3 separate regions of the Homo sapiens genome follow, and all the other regions are linked to region 3. The links are contacts of gene promoters, found by promoter capture Hi-C in blood cells and fetal thymus (Javierre and others, 2016). All regions are on one chromosome and are shown on one strand. Each heading gives the region's core, a stretch centred on a gene start or on the middle of the fragment in contact. The rest is flanking DNA. Distances are from core to core; before and after follow the strand shown. Region 1 overlaps DSCAML1 (DS cell adhesion molecule like 1). Region 2 overlaps TMPRSS4 (transmembrane serine protease 4). Region 3 holds the start of TMPRSS13 (transmembrane serine protease 13).

Region 1 (2,731 bases), core at 190-2,689, 140 kb after region 3:
CTCCCTGCTGAGATGAACCTCTATTTTTCAGGCAGTTTTGCATATAGAGAACACTCTTGGCAGCCTGTGACCTTGGGACTGCTCTTCCTTCCATGACCTAGTCTGTCACAGGGAAGCAGCATGTAACCCAGAGGTCAAGTGCTGCCTATGGCAGGCCATGGCCTGTGGGATCCTACATGTTGGGGAGGCTGTGGGCTCCACAGCCTGTGTGCCTTGTTAAACAGATGTTTGTCCTGTGCTGCTTTAGAGTGAACAGCATTAGCCTTGGGGACCACCCATGCCACTCCAGCTGCTACTCCCCTCATTCGTTCAGCTGCCCTGCCCCACTCCCTGTGCCCTGTCTCTACATGATGCTTGCACTAACAGTTTCCAAGGTCACCATCTTCATTAACAACAATTATTCAAATGCTAGTTAGTTGCATATCCATTAAACTGATTCTAAAGAGATGCATGTGTGTTTGCACGTGCATGTGTGTATGTGTGTCTGTGTGTTGGAAAGAACATTATCCATGGACCTAAAAAACAAAGCTCAGCCTGTCTTACCTGGGCAAGTTGCCTAATGGTTCATGTGCCTTTATTTCGTAATCTGTAAAATGGGCAAAATTACCCCCGTCCTGGCTATCCTACAGAGCAGTTGTTACTGTATATGTGCATAAATAAGAATAAGAGGCATAAAAATGTACATCATGTGACAGTGCTTTGTATACAGAATGAGGCAACATATGAACACACACATGTAAAAACCACAGCAAACCCGTTTTAGCCTTATAAATGCTCTGCTGAAATGTGAGGCATAATTACTGTCATTTCATCATACAGGAACGATGAAGGTCTCACAGCTGTTTGTGGCTGTCTCCCCCTCCGTGGGCCCCAACATATGGAGAATTTTCCTAGCTTTGCTTTTCAGCATCATGGGGAACAGCTGATGAGGCACAGCCAGGCTGGCAATAGTCTTCCTGGAGCAAACTTGGCAGATCCCTTGAGGCCCCAGTGGTAGTGGGAGTGGGAGGAAGCCTACCTCTTCTCCCTCCTCCCATTCCCCTCCAAGGTTCTTAGATGCAAGTGTAGTCCATAGTCCTCTGGACCAACTCCCCCAAAGGGACATTCTCCCTGCAGGGAATCCACAGTCTTTTGTGGGAAGAGCAGTAGGCACAGTCCCATCTTATGTGACCTCATTTAAGGTCACAGTATTCACTGGAATCTCTGAAAACTCTGCCGAGTCGAGACTGGTGGACACCCTGCTACTAGGGTGACCCTCCCGCAGTCGTGGGGTATGAGAGAGGATAGGACCCCTGCGTTGGGGGTGGGAGAGGGAGATTCAGGTGATCACCTTGGGTAAAAGTCTTGCAGGGTTGGAAGGCATCTTTAAGGCTGTGGAATCTGTCCCCTAATCAGAGGCTGACTCCCTCTGCAGCTTTCCCACCCAGTGTCTTTTTCTGTCTTCACTAGCACTTCCTGCAACAGGGACTCCTTCCTTGCAAGGCAGCCCATTCCTGGCCACACAGCTCTGACTATTACAGAGCTCATCCTTAGAATGAGTCAAACCCTGTTGTGGTCTTGGACCTTCTACTCACTGGTCCTGATGTCACCGCTTGGACCACATAGAGCAAGGCAAAGCCCTCTTCCACTTGACAGCCCTGCGACTGTGATAGGCAGATGTCCTGCCCATCTGAGGCCCCTGCTCTGGACACGCAGCATCCCTAGTTGCTCTGATACACCCTCGAATGACATCGTTTCGGTGCTTCATGGTGCTCCTGAGTTCCACAATGGCTAGTTTTCTGACAGCAGGGTGGCCAGAACTGAGAGAACACTGGAGACAGCACTGTAGCCCCAGCTGGGATGCTGGTGAGCTGTGTCCCTGGGGTAGATGACTCCACCTCTCTAGGCCTTGTGAATGGAGGAGATTGGAAAAAATAATCTCTTAAGTCCCTCAAGCATTAACAATCTAAATCTAGGATTCTCTGGGGACAACTGTGCTGTCTGAGCTGACTCCCTGGAAAGAAATTTTGGCCATAAGGGACCTTCCTTTGACAGGCCCTGTCTAGAAAGGGCTGGAAGATTAAAGAGTCTGTCCGACAGTCAGCTGTTGCTCATAACTTCTCCTGGAGCTGATGGCACAGGGCCTTGGAGGTTGAAGGATAGCTGCGTCTCCACTGGACCTCGCAGGTTTCTGGTTGCTGGTCACAGAAACCATGTTTGTGCTAAGAATCTTAAAAACAAACAGCAAAACCACCCATGTTTCTGATGGACACAGGGAGGACACTTGAGCTGTGCTTTGCATGGGGATTGGAAATGGGGAGCGTTTTTTGGTCATCTCAATGACTAGGGTGGGGAGCTGCTGGCGTTTAGTTGGGGGAGGGATGGAATGTCTAATGACAGGGAGATTCCCAGGTAATTCTGAATTATCATACCCCAATTGATCTCTTTTGTCAGAAAATCCCCCCACAGTGTGCTCACACCATGGGGATGGTCTGAATCTAGCCTGTCATGTGCCTGCTGAGCCACACATCCTGGCATAAAGATGTGAAATGCAGCTCTGCCACTGCGAACTGTGCAACACCAAGAAATTATTTGACCTAAGAGCCTGTCTTCTTATCTGTAAAATGGAGTCTTGAGTAGTAGCTACATCCAAGGGCTGTTGTAAGAATTACATGTGCAATAATGCAAGAAAAAGGCTTCCCACCATGCCTGGCACAAAACAAATGCTACAAAGAAATGATGGGGCTGGGCA
Region 2 (2,700 bases), core at 67-2,566, 160 kb before region 3:
CTAACTTTGGGAGAAACTTAGTTTATAGTTTAAACAAAGTTGGTAACAGCTCTTTCCCAGAGCAGACTGCCTTCTTGTCTGGGGACTAGACTAACGTTAGCCCCAAGATTAGAAATTATGGTTTAGGAGTCATGCAGCTGGAGGTTACAAGATTCTGACCCTCCCCAAACTGCTTCTAAGATCAGGGCTTGAGATATTTTGCAGACCCTGCACCTGACGGATCAGCTGGCACCACCCAGATCAATAAACTGCCTCATCTGATCTGGCGGCCCCCGCCCAGGAACTGACTGAGCGCAAGAAGACAGCTCCAACTCTATATGATTTCATCCCTGACCAATCAGCATTCCTGGCTCACTGGCTTCCCCCCACCCACCAAGTTATCCTTAAAAACTCTGCTCCCTGAATGCTTGGGGAGATTGATTTGAGTACTAATAAAACTCCAGTCTCCCACACAGCTGGCTCTGCGTGAATTACTCTTTCTCTATTTCAATTCCCCTGTCTTGATGAATTGGTTTTGTCTAGGCAGCGGGCAAGGTGAACCCCTTGGGCGGTTACACCATCCTCTGCACTTCTGTAGCATTTGGTACAGGTGTTTATCACAGGGCTTCTCTCATAGGGTGGTCAGCGTTTCCTTTCCTTTTTTCTTTCTTTTTGGTTGCTTTTTTAAATTTAACATTTTATTTTTAATTAGCCACTCTTTCTCATTGCCTTTGTACCCTTGCTGTTTAGCACCAGGCTAGTACCTAGTAAAAACTTAATAAATGACTGTGAACTGGACTGAACTTTGAGCTCTGCATTGTAGTTCATTCCCGGCCGTCTCTCCTCCACCATCACCAGGGCTGGATAGAGCAGACTCTTTCCAGGCTGAAGATGAGACCCAATCGGACGACTCTGCATTGTTGCAGCTAGAGTCAAGTTAGGATAACGTCAACAGTAATTCACACCCAACTGGCATGTAACAGTTTACAAAGTCCTTTCATCTAACTCTTGTCTAGTCAAGTCGATATCAATTGTCTGCCAACCAGGATGGGCAGCATTAAAGAATTAATTATTAAACTAAACAAATGCTTGTAAAGCATCTACATTGTACCAGGCACTACTCCAGGAGGATTCAAAGACAGATCAAGAAATCATCCCAGCAAGATGGGGAAAATAGTGCCCAAAGAAGACAGCCGAGGGTCTGTCCCCAAGAAGCTTGTTTCTTGGTGGAGAGGAGGGCTAGGGGAAGGGGGAGGACAGGCCATAAACAGATAAACCAGAAAAGATCAGAGAGGGGTAGGTGCTATGCAGGGAGTAATCCAGGGTGAGAGGAGACAGCGCCTGGATGCAGACTGAGAATGGGAGCTCTAGGGAGGGGCTCAGGATGGTTACGGAGGATCTTGCTGGTCTCCCTAGAGGAGGTGACAAGAAGGAGCCAAGTGGGAAGGAACAAGCTTGGGGGGTTGGAGGAACTGAATAGAGATGGGCATGGCTGGAGCAAGGCAAGGGCATAAGGAGAGAGGAGGTTGGTGGTAAAAAGACGCCAAATGTGTTTGGAAGATACAAACAATAGGCCTCGCCGATGGATTGGGTGTGCTTGGGTTTTAGTTACGTGGGTGAGAGGGTGCTTGCTGAGCTGTGGGAGGCTATAAGAGTGGTTGGTGGAGCAGGGAAGTGGGCCCTTTCCTGTCAATTCATTCTTTTCCACTGAGTCTACCTGTGCATGCATGCCTGCATTCATTGAGGTAGGTAGGGCAAGTTTCTTTTGTTTATTGTTAATTTAACAAATATTGACTATACAACTTTGATGGACCCGGAATAGTGCTAGAAGCTGAGGCACAAAGGAGGCTTATATTCTGCACTTTCTGGGGCCTTGGATTCCTCATCACTGAACTGAACAGTGGCTAATTTTGTGTGTGTGTGTGTGTGTGTGTGTGTTTGTGTGTGTGTGTGTGACAGAGTGAGAGAGAAAGAAAGAGAGAGAGACAGAGTCTCATTCTGTCGCCCAGGCTGAAGTGCAATGTTGTGATTTCAGCTCACTGCAGCCTCCACCTCCTGCGCTCAAGGGCTCCTCCCACCTCAGTCTCCTGAGTAGCTGGGACTACAGGCATGCACCATCACGCCCAGCTATTTTTTTTTTTTTTTCGTAGAGATGAGGTATCACTGTATTGCCCAGGCTGGTCTCGAACTCCTGGACTCAAATGATCTGCCCACCGCAGCCTCCCAAAGTTCTGGGATTACAGGTGTGAGCCACAATGCCTGGCTCTTAATATGTTTTCAATTGCTATTCACTGAGTAGTAGTTGTGGAAAAAAATTCTATCCCTGTTTGAAACCAAAAGAGAGAAAGAAAAAATAAACTAAAGCAAAACCGTAAGCTAGAATGACAGGGACTGTGACTATCTTGTTAACTGTGATATCCCTGATGTCTCCTACAATGCACAGTACATAATGAGTATTGAAAAAATATTTGTTGAATGAAAGAATTAATGAAAATATCTCAGTTTGAGGACTCAGCCTCAGCTCAGTCTTTACGAACCTGACTGGTATATTCACACAGTGACATATTAGGCTGCAGTCAAAACAAATGAACTGTAGTGACACAAAATAATATGGATGGGGCCAGGTACGGTGGCTTACACCTGTAATCCCAGCACTTTGGGAGGCTGAGGCGGGTGGATCTGACGTCAGGAGTTCGAGACCAGCCTGGCCAACATGGTGAA
Region 3 (2,700 bases), core at 56-2,555:
GAGAGCCCTCTCTGACCATCCTGTTCCCAACTGCCAGGACTCTGCCTCCCCTACCTTCTGGATCCTTTCGCTGCTTTGTTTTTGTGAACGGCACTTTTCACTTTCTAGGAGGCTGTGTAACTGATTTATTGATTTTTGTCTGCTTTTTCCCCCCAACCCGCAAATACTAGAGCCACAGGGCAGGAGGCTTTGCCTATTTTGTTCCTGTGTCCCCAGCACCTAAAGCAATGCCAGGCACTCAATACATATTTGTTGAATGAACACGTGAAGGATGCGTGTGAAGTGTTTCGCAGGATTCTTGGCATCTTAAGATTATTGCTGCTGCTGTTGTTTGCTGTGTGACTTGAGCACATTCCTTAGCCTCTCTGGCCCTCTGTCTCGCAGTCTGTAAAATGAAAAGAGTGAACCACTAAAGATCCATGAGCTTCTTTCAAACTCTAAAAATCTTGGTGCCTCTGAATGCTCAAGAAAGTTCTTCCCAAACCTCAACAGGAACTCCTTTTTCTTTTTTTTTTTTTTGCAGTTCTCAGCAGCAGCTCAGCTGGAACTTAGCCGGAGGTGCTAAGGACTCCTTTTGCAATAGCCCTTCCTTTACTTCTTTTGACTCTGAGGATCAGAATAGGGTATAGGTTTGGGATCACGAGTCAGCCCAATGTTTCTTGGAACAGTTTCCATTCAGATAGTTATGTTTTATTTCATTGACTTTGATGTGTTGCTTCTGGCACTTTATTGTTTTCAATAGAGGGCAATTCATGATGTGCATAATTAAAGGTCATTTGATTTTCATTTCTTTGTTAAGAGTTTCATAAAAACAAACAGAGTTCAGGAGAAAGCAATTGCCAGACCATGCGCCCAGAGACCATGTGCCCTGATTTGGGATTTGGACACCTGGTCCTTGGAGATGAAGGTTCCCACTGTCCTGCCATAGGTGGGGCTCTGCCCCTGGCCTGGAACGTCCCCTGTGGGGATAGGGTCATCCCTCAGAAGGCTCTGGAGCATCTGTTTCAGGGGCTCAGGTCAACAGGACCAAGACCATCCTCTCAAGGCTCTGCCCTTTCTCTCAGGGCCCCTCTGAAGAAGTAGCTCAGAACACTCCTCTGCTTCTGTGGGGGCAGTTTCATGAGTAAAGGCAGCTTCAGGTTCCCGGTATTTGGAATTTGGTATTCGCTGAGTAACTGGGATGGCCTCGATGAGGGGCAGAGGAACAGGTCTGGCTAGTTCTGTGTTGTTTATACTGGGGATTACTTCACACGTCCCAACCGGCTTCCCCGCCCCATTTGGTGGGGGCTGGCCCTTGGCCCTCCAACTCCTTTACCCTACATGCCTGAGAAGCCAGGGACCAAGATGGATCTTCTCCTCGACATCAGCTAAGCCTGGAGGACTCTTCCCCTCAGAGACCATGGAGAGGGACAGCCACGGGGTGAGTGTGACCTCAGGCCTCGGGCCAGATTCTCCCAGCGCTGAGGAAGCAGGGCTGAGGCTGGGAGACAGGTGGGACAGCTACCTCTGTGTTTCAGGTTTGGGGGAAACTGGCTGTGCCTCTTCTAGTTTGAAGCTACTTACGATCAAGATCTCTTGGTCTCCTTTTAACGTGGTTCTAGAAAAAGCCCCTGGGAGGAGAAGCTGCTGGGATTTGGGGTCTGGCTGGTGAGCACCCCAGGGCTATGTGGCTGAGTCGTGGGTTTCCTGCTCTGTGGTCTGTGAGCACTCCTGCCGGGCATCCATAGTGTTACAGCACCAACTTTGCCGATTGGGAATCCAGGCTAATCTACTTTAATCTCATTTTTGCTGGTTGGAAAATCAAAAGCATTCTAACTGCAATTCAGGGGCATCTTGTCTAAACCCCTCACTACACTCCTAAACCTTCCCAGAAAACTGTGACTTTCTGGGTGCATTCAAGATTTTCAAGGGGATGTTTCAACCTCCGTTGGTCACTTCTTTTTGGACTTAATAACTTTCATGCTTGGGAAGTGCTTCTTGATGTTTAACCACAAGTCCTGCTACCACTCAACTTCCTTTCTTCTGCTGCTCTTGGGGTAGGAGAAAGCAGCTGGCCTGTCCTCTGTGGGAAAGCCAGTCATACACACATGAAGGCTTCCAAAGATCTTGTTCTGCTGTGCCTCCACTTTCTTTTCCTCCAGGAAATCCCTTTTGTGCTCTCATTTCTCCTTTAGGTCTTGTTTTCTGCCCCCTCCAAATTCTCTGTACCTTACCGACATGGTAGAGCCTGGGACTCTGGGAAGAATGGGCTAGCACTGGGTTTGGGAAAGATCAGCTCATCCTATGTTTTGGCTTATAGTTGGCTTGTGGTCCATTCTGCACCCCCAATGTGTTTCTGCAAACTTTACCATCATTTTTTTCCCACCATTCTTCCAGCCCCCTCTTGACTTTTCTTTCCCAGGCTGCCTCCCTTGCCCTCTGCTCTGGGCTCCTTCGTTCATGTCTCTACCTCACCAAAGTCACTTGGCCCTAGGCCTTGGGGGGTTATCAGAGCCTCTTACTGTTGAGCAGTAAGGGGGGTACACAAGGGCATGCAGAAGGTGAACCCTTAGTCACAGCCATGGGGCATCCTCCTTGGCAATATGCTGGGAGCCTAAACTAGATGGTCCCTAAACCCAAGAGTGAGAAGGGCTGAGCTATCCGGAGGGTGGCCATGCTCCCACTGGAGATGGATAGTCCATCCCTGAGACAGGGTGATGG

The links. Contacts are between HindIII fragments. The CHiCAGO score rates a contact against its expected background, and 5 or more counts as called.
Region 1: a fragment that was not itself captured here is called in contact with the fragment with the promoter of TMPRSS13 in region 3 in 5 of 17 cell types (naive CD4 T cells, non-activated CD4 T cells, naive CD8 T cells and 2 more); the score reaches 6.8 in naive CD4 T cells.
Region 2: a contact is called between a fragment that was not itself captured here and the fragment with the promoter of TMPRSS13 in region 3, in 5 of 17 cell types (total CD8 T cells, naive B cells, total CD4 T cells and 2 more). The highest score is 5.6, in total CD8 T cells.

The regions. Positions count from the first base shown.
Region 1 is chr11:117,788,618-117,791,348 of GRCh38, reverse strand. The region is part of intron 1 of DSCAML1 (DS cell adhesion molecule like 1); the gene reads left to right. Among named protein-coding and RNA genes, the nearest start is that of DSCAML1, 7.2 kb to the left of the region's middle. The HindIII fragment of the contact is 8,640 bases long and covers 1-2,731 here.
Region 2 is chr11:118,090,039-118,092,738 of GRCh38, reverse strand. All of the region lies in intron 1 of TMPRSS4 (transmembrane serine protease 4), which reads right to left. It overlaps LOC105369517 (a long non-coding RNA gene), which reads left to right. Exons shown (of 4, transcript XR_007062904.1): 4 at 205-452. Among named protein-coding and RNA genes, the nearest start is that of SMIM35, 4.4 kb to the right of the region's middle. The HindIII fragment of the contact is 239 bases long and covers 1,197-1,435 here.
Region 3 is chr11:117,928,007-117,930,706 of GRCh38, reverse strand. TMPRSS13 (transmembrane serine protease 13) reads left to right here and starts at 1,305. Exons shown (of 13, transcript NM_001077263.3): 1 at 1,305-1,420. The coding sequence starts at 1,400. The HindIII fragment of the contact is 10,649 bases long and covers 1-2,700 here.